Regions from separate parts of the Homo sapiens genome. Here regions 1, 2 and 3 are each linked to region 4. Evidence: promoter capture Hi-C in human tissues and cell types (Jung and others, 2019). All regions are on one chromosome and are shown on one strand. Each heading gives the region's core, a stretch centred on a gene start or on the middle of the fragment in contact. The rest is flanking DNA. Distances are from core to core; before and after follow the strand shown.

Region 1 (2,724 bases), core at 1-2,500, 220 kb after region 4:
AGCGCCATCCAGTCTATCTCTCGCTCCCAGCGGGCCCAGTCCCACCACACGAAAGAGTAGCTTTGCGTGCACACATTCTGGTAATAGCGGTACCTGCGGGCAGTGTCATGAGCAGGGGCGCATCCCACCCTGGAGGGTCCACGGCCCTGGAACAAATCCCCCATCCCCCACCTAGAGGAGAGGGGAGGGGCTCCAAACTCGGCCCTTCTGCTGCACACTGGGACCCACCCCAGGTGGAGCTGAGACCAGGTACCGGGGCTGGGCTTCTGAGGCACTCGTCCCCTGCACTCTCCCAGGGCCCTCTAGCCTGGCGGGTATTTGGGTGGCATATTCCACTTTCATGCCACACTGCCAGAGCCCCTCCTCTGCACGGTGTTTTCCTGGAACGGGGAATCCCTGCCCCCACAGTCTAACAGATGGGCAGGGGAGGACAGCTGTGTGAACACATCACTCCATAGTGTGGCAGGCGCTGGAACACAGGCCTGTAGGGTGGGGGATGGAGGCGTCCTTCCTCAGTCCGCAGGTTCAAAGAGAAGGTGGGGGAGGAAGGCAAGAAAATTCACTCATCACCAATTGTGCACCACAAATTCTATGCCCATCATCGTGCAAATCCTCACAATAACACTGCACGGTAGGCGTCTTCTTTCCGTTTTTCAGGTGGGCCAGCCGAGGCTCTGAAAGGCAGAGTGGCTGGCTCAAGGCCACACAGCTGCTGGAGGCGGCGCAGCTGGGCCTTCCGGCCAGCGCTCCCCGCTCAGCCTCCCGATTTGGGTGGCAGCGGCTCCGGGAGGGGGTAAGCGCCTCGGGCGGACGCGGGGAAGCTTCGGGGCGGTACCTGTTGGGCGTGGCCTCGGTCAGCTCCCCCGGCACGGCTGGCAGTGGCCGCGGCAGGCGCAGCTGAGAGCCGGACCAGGCCACGTGGCAGCCACAGAAGTCGCGCAGGTAGCGGTGCAGCCCCGCGGCGGCCGCCACGCCCGTGGAGCCGCGCACCCGCACGCGCGCCGCGCCGCCGCCGCCCAGGCTGTAGGTGTCCAAGCCCGGCTTGGCAGCCAGAGCGCGCTCCACCGACACGGAGAAGTCGGCCGCGGGGCCTGGCCCCAGCAGCCGGGCCACGAGCGCCCGCACGGCCGCCGCCTCCCGGGCCTCGTCGCCTGCCGCGCCCCCGGCCCCGGCCAGGAGAAGGACCCCCACCGCCGCGGCCACCGCCACCGCCTCCATGGTCTCAGTCCTGCGGGTCCCGCGACGGCCAGGGGGTGGGGCGGCCCGCGTCCAATCAGCTGCCGGCCTCCGGCCACGTGGACCCGAAGGCTAAGCCCGGGCTCAGGGCCAGGAGTCGCGGCTTCCGGGTACCAGGATACTCCCTTGGGGGCGTCTCGTGACCGCACGCGGTGGGGAGCGTGTGACCCCGGCTCCAGGGCCGAAGGGGACCCGCTGGCCCTCACAGAGCGCCTTCGGGTAAAACGCGCTTTCACACGCAAATAACTTCCATCCAACCATCTAATAAATACACATTTGGAGTTTATTTTGTATCAGGCACTGCCATAGCTACTTCCCTACTGATGAACGAGAAGACGGTCCCTACCGTCCCCGTCAGGGAGGTGACCTAGAAACCAGATATTTAACGTAAGTAAGGATTTCCATCATAGTTGTGATGCTGCGAAGTAGTGCAGTAAGTAGCGAAGTAGCGAAGTAAGGTTTCCAAAGGAAGTGACTTTTAATCTGAAACTCAGGGATGAATAGGAATTGGCTAGAAGAGGGAAAGGAAGAGCCTTCCAGACAGAAGAAATGCATTTATTGAAGGCCCTGAGAAGGCAGAGAGCTTGCAGATTTGAGTAACTAACAGGCTAGGAGGTTCGAGGAGGGATGGGGCCATGTGAGCCCAGGCCGGCGGTGGAGCAGGGCTGGCGGGCACGTTAAAGGCTGTCCATTGGCGGCAGCAGCAGCAACATAACAGGAGCTGTCATTTTGTCAGAAGTTTCCAACCAGAGCGACTCCATCTTGAACAGGGGCTGGGTAAAATGAGGCAGAGACCTGCTGGGCTGAATTCCCAGGAGGTTAGGCCTTCGTCACAGGATGAGACAGGAGGTCAGCACAAGATAAAAGGTCACAAGACCCCGCTGATAAAACAGAATGCAGCAAAGAAACTGGTCAAAACCTGCCAAAACCAAGACAGGAAGGTGACCTCTGATCGTCCTCACTGCTCATTATACGCTAATTATAATGCATTAGTATGCTAAAGACACTCCTAGCAGCGCCAGGCAGTTTACAAATGCCATGGCAACGTCCAGAAGTTACCCTATATGGTCTAAACAGTGGAGGAACCTTCAGTTGGGGGGGATCCCCACCCCTTTTCTGAAAAATTCATTACTAACCCACCCCTTGTTTATCATATAATCAAGAAATAACCATAAAAATAGCCAACCTTAGGCCAGGAGCGGTGGCTTACGCCTGTAATCCCAGCACTCTGGGAGGCTGAGGCTTGCAGATCACCTCAAGTCAGGGGTTTGAGACCAGCCTGGCCAACATACAGTGAAACCCCGTCTGTACTAAAAATACAAAAGTTAGCCAGGTGCTGGGCGCGGTGGCTCACGCCTGTAATCCCAGCACTTTGGGAGGCCAAGACGGGCGGATACGAGGTCAGGAGATCAAGACCCTCCTGGCTAACACGGTGAAACTCCATCTCTACTAAAAATACAAAAAATTAGCCGGGCGTGTTGGCGAGCG
Region 2 (2,700 bases), core at 62-2,561, 240 kb before region 4:
TTACTAGAGGTAAGAGATTTAAAAGTAGCAACAGTTAACATTTAAGAAGTACTTGCTATATGCCAAGCACTGCTCACAGGACTTGGTATCTATTCACTTGCTCCACTGCTAGTGAAGTGTACAGCCAAGGTTAAGACACCACAGCCTAACTCCAGAGATCAGTCTCAGGAGATGGGAGAGGGGAATCCAGGGGTACTCCAGTGTCCCCACAACAACAAAACGCAGTGGTGTATGTGGCCAGAGCCTAGGGAACTCTCTCAAGAAGCTACAAAATCATGGATAAGAGGAAAACAGTGAGGGGCTATGTGACCTTTCTAAAAGCAATTTCCTCCTCTTCTTACAGATTCCCAGCTGCAGCACTTCAGGTAAATAACAGAACACCTCCAAACCTTAGCAACAGGAAGGAACCCCCTATAGCTGGGGATGGTGGCACGCACCTGTAGTCCCAGCCACTCGAGAGGCTGAGATGGGAGACTCGCTTGAGCCCGGGAGGTCGAGGCTGCAGTGATCACGCCACTGCACTTAGCCTGGACAGAGATCCCGTCTCAAAAAAAAAAAAAAGAAAAGAAAAGAAAAGGAATCCCCTATGATTACTTCAAGGACTGCACATGACAATACCTGAAAGGCAGTGGGAGCACATAGCAAGCGTGCAATGTCAGCCACTATTACTATATATTTAAAGCCTCTGGTGGAGAAGGCTTTATGCGTTGGGAGCCCAATTCAGCTCACATTTGCTTTTACTGTGCTTCTTCCTCTCTCAAAAACTCTCCCACGTTCACCCTGACCGTGCTCACTGGCTACTGCCCCAGAAACAGGCCTTGAATTCCAAGCCTGCCCGCCCCGCCGCAGCCAGCCTGGTCCCGGCATGCAAGGACGCAGAGTCCCGCGAGGCTGATACCTTCACGATGACAGCTTTGCGTCCGGAGTAGCGTCCAGCCAGGACAAGCACCACCTTCCCAGGTTTCATGAACTTGCCCATTTCTGCAGAGAGCAAGGAGAAAGGGCCACTTAAAAATCCGTAAAGCCAAAGATGCCCAGAGCTGACTCCTGCCAGCAAGCCCAGGTCTTGGGCCGGAACTTCAGACTGTGTTCACTGTCGCCTTGGTCAAGGCCGCCCGAGGGCCCTGCTCGCAGGACAGGATCGGATACGTAGCCGCCAGAGACCTAGGGAAGGAATGCACCCGGCGCCGCCCGGACCTTCGACCCCCAAGCCGCGGATGGCAGCGGATTGAAAGATTCAACCCAAGCTTCTACTTACCGGCAGCAACCACCCGGCCCTACCAGCAAAAAGGAAAGAAGGACACTTCCGCTAACCTTTCACCCCGGTGAGGAGTGACCTCACTTCCTGTCCCGCCCTTCAGGCTTTGCCACGCTGATTGTGTGGTGCTGAGTCTCGTGTTGCGGGCGGAAGAAGCTCATGAGGGAAACGCAGGGCGCGGCAGCTCAAGTATTCGAATGAAACTTTATTAGCAGCTCCAGCAGTAGACAAGAGCAAAGGAGACTCCTCCCGGCCGACGGAAGAGCTGGGAGGGCGACTGTGCTGTGCGCTCTGGACTCAGCAGCTAGGCTTTGTTGTAGTTCCTTTCTCTGGCGCTAGGAGGGGGAACACAATCTGAAATTTACTTTTTCTCTTGGGAGACACAGGGAAAAAAATAGGGCATTTATTGGTGCCTGTCGGGGGCACTGTTAGCTAAAGAGGGAGGGACAAAGATCAGTAAGGGTGGCTGGTCCGATAGTAGTGGGTTATCAGAACTTATCAACGTTAGGGTCACTAAAGTTGGTATACAACCCCCCACTGCTAAATTTGGTTTTAAAAAAACAAACAAAAAGGATATTTACCCCCAACAGTTAAAGTCTAGTGGTGTCACTGACATTACCAACTAGAATAAGCATGAGGGAGGTAGAGGAGAAGAATGGCAGCTGCTTACCCTGTGCCAGGTCAGGTTAATCTATTTATGCACATCATCTGATTTGGTCATCATAACACTAAGAAATAGATACTATTATCTCCATTCTAGAGTCGAGGAAACTGGCTTAGAGAGATTTGCCCGAAGTCTATAGTGGTTAAATAGTGGAGCTGGGGCTCAGCCTCAAGCAGTTCAACTCCTGAACCCATACTGTTTACCATGTCACCATCCTGAGCAGCGATTCTCTCCCAGGCAAGATGTGAGCACTTTATACAAGCCGGCAGCCTGTTTAATCCTCACAACTCTGCATCTTGGGCATTCTCCTCCCATTTAGACATGAGGAAATTGCAATTCAGAGAGGATAAATTGCTTGTCTGAGGTTAATCCTAATCAGTGGCATAGATGGGATTCAAATCTAGGTCTGAATCTAGGTCTAGTTGGCTCTCAAACTGAATTATTTCCCATCACTCACCAGAAGAGTGTTTTCACATGGTACCTTATGTGCTTTCCGAGTTTAAGGGAAAGATAAACTATCTCACAGTTTTTGCTTATCTGAACCTATAGGATTTGTCTTGGGCAAGATGTGGAACAACCAGGATTTCATCAGTTCTCTCCTGAAGCTCTCCAGTGATACAATTTTCCCTGTATCCCTCAGGATCCCATTGCAATGGCTTTTGTTTTGTTTTTTGAGACAGGGTCTCGCTCTGTCACCCAGGCTGAATGGTGTGTAGCACAATCATGGCTCACTGTAGCCTCAACCTCCTGGGCTCGTGATCCCCCCACCTCAGCCTCC
Region 3 (2,720 bases), core at 193-2,692, 190 kb before region 4:
AGCTAGAACAAAGATGGTTAAGGCCTAGACAGCCAGGATGAAATAACAGAGGAGAAATACAAAAGCTGACATCCAGGGGAGATAACCTGTGGCTGTGGCTGTGGCTGTGTTCAGCTATTTGTTCTTCCGACTCTGAAAGGAACTTTTTTTTTTTTTGGAGATAAGAGTCTTGTTCTGCCACCTAGGCCGGAGTGCAGTGGCATGATTTTGGCTCACTGCAACCTCCGCTTCCTGGGTTCAAGCAATTCTTGTGCCTCAGCCACCCAAGTAGCTGGGATTACAGGTGTGTGCTACCAAAAATTTCCTTCAACCCTGCCACTGAGTTACCCAATTTCTTTCTCCAGAATCAATCACTTAATTTTTTTGTTTTAGATGGAGTTTCGCTCTTGTTGCCCAGGCTGGAGTGCAATGGCGCAGTCTCCGCTCACTGCAACCTCCGCCTCCCGAGTTCAAGCAATTCTCCTGCCTCAGCCTACCGAGTAGCTGGGATTACAGGCATGTGCCACCATGCCCGGCTAATTTTGTATTTTTAGTAGAGATGGGGTTTCACCATGTTGGCCAGGCTGGTCTCGAGCTCCTGACCTCAGGTAATCCGCCGGCCTCGGCCTCCCAAAGTGCTGGGATTACAAGTATGAGCCACCATGCCTGGCCTTTTTTTTTTTTTTTTTTCCAGATATAGTCTCACTCTGTTGCCCAGGCTGGAATGCAGTGGCACAATCATGGCTTACTGCAGTCTCAACCTCCTGGGAACAGGTGATCCTCCCACCTCAGCCCTCTGAGTAGCTGGGACTAGAGGTGTGCACCACCACACCTGGCTAATTTTTTGTATTTTTTCTAGAGACAGTGCTTTGCCGTGTTGCCCACACTAGTCTTGAACTCCTGGGCTCTAGCAATTTGTCCACTTTGGCCTCCCAGTGTTGGGATTACAGGCGTGAGCCACCATGCCCAGCCTGTTACCAATTTCTTATATATCCCTCTGGTAGTATTTTAAAAAATAGATGTACATAAATCTTCCCTCTTTTTAAACATAAATGGTAGCACATTGTATACTCTTCTGCATCTTGCTTTTCTCAGAGTGCCATGTTTTAGATAAAACCATAGTGTAACACTCATGCTATACAAAATGGGTCCATTAGTGGGAGAAAGGGAAATGTTTGCTTCACAGAAGCTTCCTTACTTTTGTAGAAGGACTCAGGCAGGATCTTGAACAGAGACCCATGTGAATTTGTCTCTGTGTGAGATCTCTGTCCCTCTCTGTGTTTGTTTCTTTAGGGTGTGCCTTAGTCTGATCTGACTGCTATAATAACAAAAACTAGGTAGCTTATAAACAACAAAAATGTATTTCTCACAGTGGAGGCTGGGAAGCTGGCAAATTCAGTGTCTGGTGTGAAGGTTCAAATACTGGTTCAGGAATAGCCATCTTTTTGCACCCTTGGTGCAAAGGGTAAGGGGTCTTTCTTGGGCCTTTTTTTTTTTTTTTTTTTTTTGAGACAGATGGAGTTTCACTCTTGTTGCTCAGGCTGAAGTGCAATGGTGCAATCTCAGCTCACTGCAACCTCCACCCCCTAGGTTCAAGTGATTCTCCTGCCTCAGCCTCCCGAGTAGCTGGGATTACAGGCGCCTGCCATCCCACCCAGCTAATATTTTGTATTTTTAGTAGAGATGGGGTTTCACCATGTTGGCCAGGCTGGTCTCGAACTCCTGACCTCAGGTGATCCGCCTGCCTCAGCCTCCCAAAGTGCTGGGATTACAGGCATGAGCCTCCGCACCCAGCCCTCTCGGGCCTCTTTTATAATGCACTAATTTCATTCACGAAGGCTCTGCCCCCGTGACCTAATCACCTGCTAAAGGGCCCACCTCCTGATACCACTTAGGGGGTTAGGATTTCAACATATGAATTTTTAGGGGTACACAAAGATTCAGAACACAGGTGCAACAACAAGAACAGTGACCTGGGAGGCCACTCTTGCTCACTACCACTCAGGTGGGTTCTTGTCACTTAGACCTAGAGCAACCATGTAATTTTAATATCCAGAGTTAGGCAAACCTCATGCCAGAACAACAGTCAGAAACCCAGACGGTGTTAAGGTAGCCTGGATGTCTGGTCCCCCTGCTGAGACTCCCTGAGCTTCAGTTTCTTGACCTGAAAATGGACACATGAACTGGGTGTCCTAAGAAGGAAGGAACCTTATGAAATAATTAAGAAAAGCCATAAACACTTGAGCAAATTATGTGAAAATGGTAATTGGTTGTATAAAGAAAGAGAAAATAAAGCAGCAGTTTTTGAACTGGTGATGTCATTCTTGCCTGTCACTGAGGCCCTAATCCAATGCCCCAGGGAGAGGGGGAGAAGAACAGAGTGTGTTCAGGGGAAGGGGTGGATTGTCTTTTATGAGGTTCACCAGGAAACAAAATGAGTTCATTTATTGGAGTAATCAAGTTTTAGGTACACACACAGGTTATATATTCTGGAATGTTACTATAACCCACTTTACGGCACAGAAATAGTAAGGGGGACTCCTTGGCTTCTAAGGAAATTTTTTTATGTGCGTACCCATAAATTGCTGAAGACAGCTGCTGTAGCTTCCACTAAGGTGATGCATGTAGGTACTAGAACAGATGTTAGTATGAAAGATGAAAGGTATCAGGTGGAAGAGACCCAGAGCAGTAGACAGACTGAATTCAGGGCCGGCGCTGTGGCTCATGCCTGTAATCCCAAC
Region 4 (2,723 bases), core at 211-2,710:
AAGATGATCCTCTCTGCCAAGGGATTGGGGAAGCCCAGGTCAAACAACTCTGCAAAGTGCTCCAGGCAATCTCGCAGGGTGCTATAAGGCCTAGGGGCAGAAGAGGACTTGAGTGAGAGAGGGGGTGGACCCAGGGAGAAGAGTGCCCCACTCTCACTCAGGGTCTACCTGCAATGAGCAGGTCCACCCCCTGGCCTGAGCCACCCTCCATCACTGCCCCTACCTGCTAATCATGGCCCAGTCGCACCAATCCTTTTCGATAGGATCCATTTGATCCTTATAATGATTCCAGCAAAATTGGACAGCTGTCTCATAGTTCTTCACCGTCCCCCCTGTAGGTACAGATGCTACACAATGACCACACCCCTACCCCTCCCTACAAACCCTCCTGCCCAGGTGCTTGCAAGGTGAACTGCCTGTCTTCAAACGTGGGAACCCTTCAGAAAGTTTCCCTAGCAAAACATTCTGGCTGAGGACAGAGTCCCAGCTCAGGAATCCTATAATGACTTCCATGTGCTAAGCACTTTCCATCCCAGCCTGATAAGAACTTCCACGTACACCTTTTCCTGGGGTCTTCTCGCCCACTTGTGAGGTGGGCAGCTCAGAGCCGTGCAGGGGCTTTGTAGGAGGACAGGGAGAAAGACCACGAGGAACCCCAAGAAAGAACAGAGGGGAGTGTAGTGGGGCATCAGCTGGGGTTGGGCAGGCCTCGTGGGAAAGGAACCCTCCCCACTGAACTTGCTCTCGTCCTTACCCTCGGCCACCCTTCCACACCCTGGGTACCCACCTTCTGACCCTGGTGTGCCTGTGGTGGGAAGAGGCTGAGCCAGGGCCTCGTGGGGATTCAGGACAGCTGTGGGAAGAAACGGGAGAGGAGGGTAACATAGCGGGGACCCCGGCAGTGGAGCCTGCGAGGGGGGTTGGGGGACTGAGACCCTCCGAAAATAGGCTACCTTGGAAGAAAAGGAGGAATAATCTAGCCCCCACGGACGCCTCAGTGCCGGGGAGGGAGGGGCTGGCACCAGCTCCTTGTCACTCACACCCAGGCCCAAAGCCCCCTCATCTCTGGCCAGCTTCCGTCCTCCTAAGCCCTCTTCGAGGGGCCGGGGCCAGCACCCCAGCTTTCCCTGGGTGGGAAGCAGCTCATGCTGCGCCCGCCCCGAGGTGGGGTCAGGGACCGTCCGAGGGCCAGTGCTGCTAGGTACGTCGGTCCTAACCCGCACCCCAGGGCCCGTTCCGGCCTCGGCCATCCAGCCCCTCTCCCCTCTCCCCTCTCCCCTCCGGGGCCTCTCGCGCCTCCCGCCCGGGCCTCGGGGCGCCGCGCTCACCGCCCAGCAGGAGGAGGAGGCGGAGCGCTGCCGGCCGCCCGACTCGGGTCCTAGGGAGACGCGGGCCGCCGGCGCGCTCCACCCGGAGCGAGGCCATCGTGCAGCAAGGAGGCGAGGAGCGGCGGCGGCGCTGAGCCGGGCCCGGGTGTGGGGGCGCCTATATCCCCAGCCCAAGCTGCAGGAAGCCGCGCCGCTTCCTCGGAGGGGCTGGGACGGCGGCGGCCACGTGGGGGGCGGGGGCGACGCTCGGGGCCCGCGGCTGGAGGGGGAGTCGCTGCCTCACCCGCGCCTGGCGCCCGCGGCTCCCTCCGCCTCGCCGGCGTTGGCCCACCCTCTCGTAGCTCACCCCGCGAGGCTGGACAGCTCCCGGAACCCCGGAACCGGGATCTATTTCGGGGGCTCGGCTGCGTGGCGCCCAGGACTCTCCAGGGTCTCCCAGGATCGCTCCCCGAATTCGAGTCGCCCCCTCTCTCTTTCGGGTCTGGAGGGGTCGGCAAGCTGCTCTCCCAGACGTGGAGAAGAGGGAGGGGGCTGGGAGCTCCAGCGGCCTCTCGACGCCGCTGCTTCTAAGGGGCTGTCCTGGGTTGTGGGGGAAGGGGCGCCTGGAGCTGAGCCATGCAGCTCAGGGTTCCTTATCCTATCCCTAGGAATACCAGCTGATGTCAGTCCGCCAGCCAAAACCAGGGAGGAGAAGCGGGAGCCAGCCCTCTGGAGTCGGGAGAAGGTCTGGGGAGTGGGGTAGAGGGGAAAGCAAAGTCCAAATACCTTCCCTTCAGACACCTCCTGGGGCCTAGACCCCACAAACCTGTTGTGGGGAGGGCAAAATACGATGACTACGTTCCCAGGAAGAAGGTGCCACAGCTCTTCAGGACCACGGTTGGGAGAAAGAATGGAGGGGTTTTAGAACCTTCAGTGTGCGACTTCATGTGCCAGGTGAGTGTAACACCATTTTACAGACCGAGAAGCTAAAGCTCAGGGCCAACAGCCCGGGATTTGAATTCAGAAGCTCTGGGTTCTAATTCTGTCTTCTTACTCCCCAGCTATAGAGCCTTGAATGACACGTTTACCTTCAGGACTTCTCATGTGAAATAGGGACATTCCCCTCCTCACTGTATGATGGCAGCTGTGAAAGGGCACTGCACTCGCTAAATGCTAGTTTCCTTTCCTCTTTTCCTAAGTGACTTATCTAAGGTCACACTGTTAAGGAAGCAGCAAGGCTGAGTCTGGGCCTCCGGGGGTCCTGACTTCAGCCACACCACAGCTGCTTCTTGTGTCCTGGGCCAGAGGTTCATTAGTCTGAAGCAGCTGAGGAGCCCAGGAGCTGGTTTGGCCATGACGTTCAAGTCCCAGACACAGCTGTCAGCACCAAACTTTCCTAAATTACTCCCAGACACT

Evidence for each region. Contacts are between HindIII fragments. The study calls those that stand out against the background at their distance.
Region 1: the fragment with the promoter of NAGLU here is called in contact with the fragment with the promoter of RAMP2 in region 4 in 1 of the 25 tissues and cell types used here (lymphoblastoid cells).
Region 2: the fragment with the promoter of RPL27 here is called in contact with the fragment with the promoter of RAMP2 in region 4 in 1 of the 25 tissues and cell types used here (lymphoblastoid cells).
Region 3: a contact is called between a fragment that was not itself captured here and the fragment with the promoter of RAMP2 in region 4, in 7 of the 25 tissues and cell types used here (IMR-90 fibroblasts, dorsolateral prefrontal cortex, liver and 4 more).

The regions. Positions count from the first base shown.
Region 1 is chr17:42,534,767-42,537,490 of GRCh38, reverse strand. It overlaps NAGLU (N-acetyl-alpha-glucosaminidase), which reads right to left and starts at 1,250. Exons shown (of 6, transcript NM_000263.4): 1 at 836-1,250; 2 at 1-93. The coding sequence starts at 1,218. RefSeq lists silencers at 748-817, 938-1,347 and enhancers at 207-944, 1,458-1,537. The HindIII fragment of the contact is 7,033 bases long and covers 160-2,724 here.
Region 2 is chr17:42,997,030-42,999,729 of GRCh38, reverse strand. It overlaps RPL27 (ribosomal protein L27), which reads right to left and starts at 1,311. Exons shown (of 5, transcript NM_000988.5): 1 at 1,259-1,311; 2 at 899-981. The coding sequence starts at 979. LOC124904006 (a long non-coding RNA gene) reads left to right here. Exons shown (of 2, transcript XR_007065759.1): 1 at 1-9; 2 at 344-2,700. RefSeq lists enhancers at 850-959, 1,030-1,269, 1,280-1,589, 555-1,754. The HindIII fragment of the contact is 14,123 bases long and covers 1-2,700 here.
Region 3 is chr17:42,946,630-42,949,349 of GRCh38, reverse strand. No RefSeq gene overlaps it. Among named protein-coding and RNA genes, the nearest start is that of AARSD1, 16 kb to the left of the region's middle. The HindIII fragment of the contact is 8,985 bases long and covers 1-2,720 here.
Region 4 is chr17:42,759,964-42,762,686 of GRCh38, reverse strand. It overlaps RAMP2 (receptor activity modifying protein 2), which reads right to left and starts at 1,460. Exons shown (of 4, transcript NM_005854.3): 1 at 1,329-1,460; 2 at 788-853; 3 at 224-332; 4 at 1-90. The coding sequence starts at 1,425. It overlaps RAMP2-AS1 (RAMP2 antisense RNA 1), which reads left to right and starts at 1,430. Exons shown (of 6, transcript NR_024462.1): 1 at 1,430-1,807; 2 at 1,976-2,052; 3 at 2,174-2,261. RefSeq lists a silencer at 1,257-1,346. The HindIII fragment of the contact is 24,962 bases long and covers 1-2,723 here.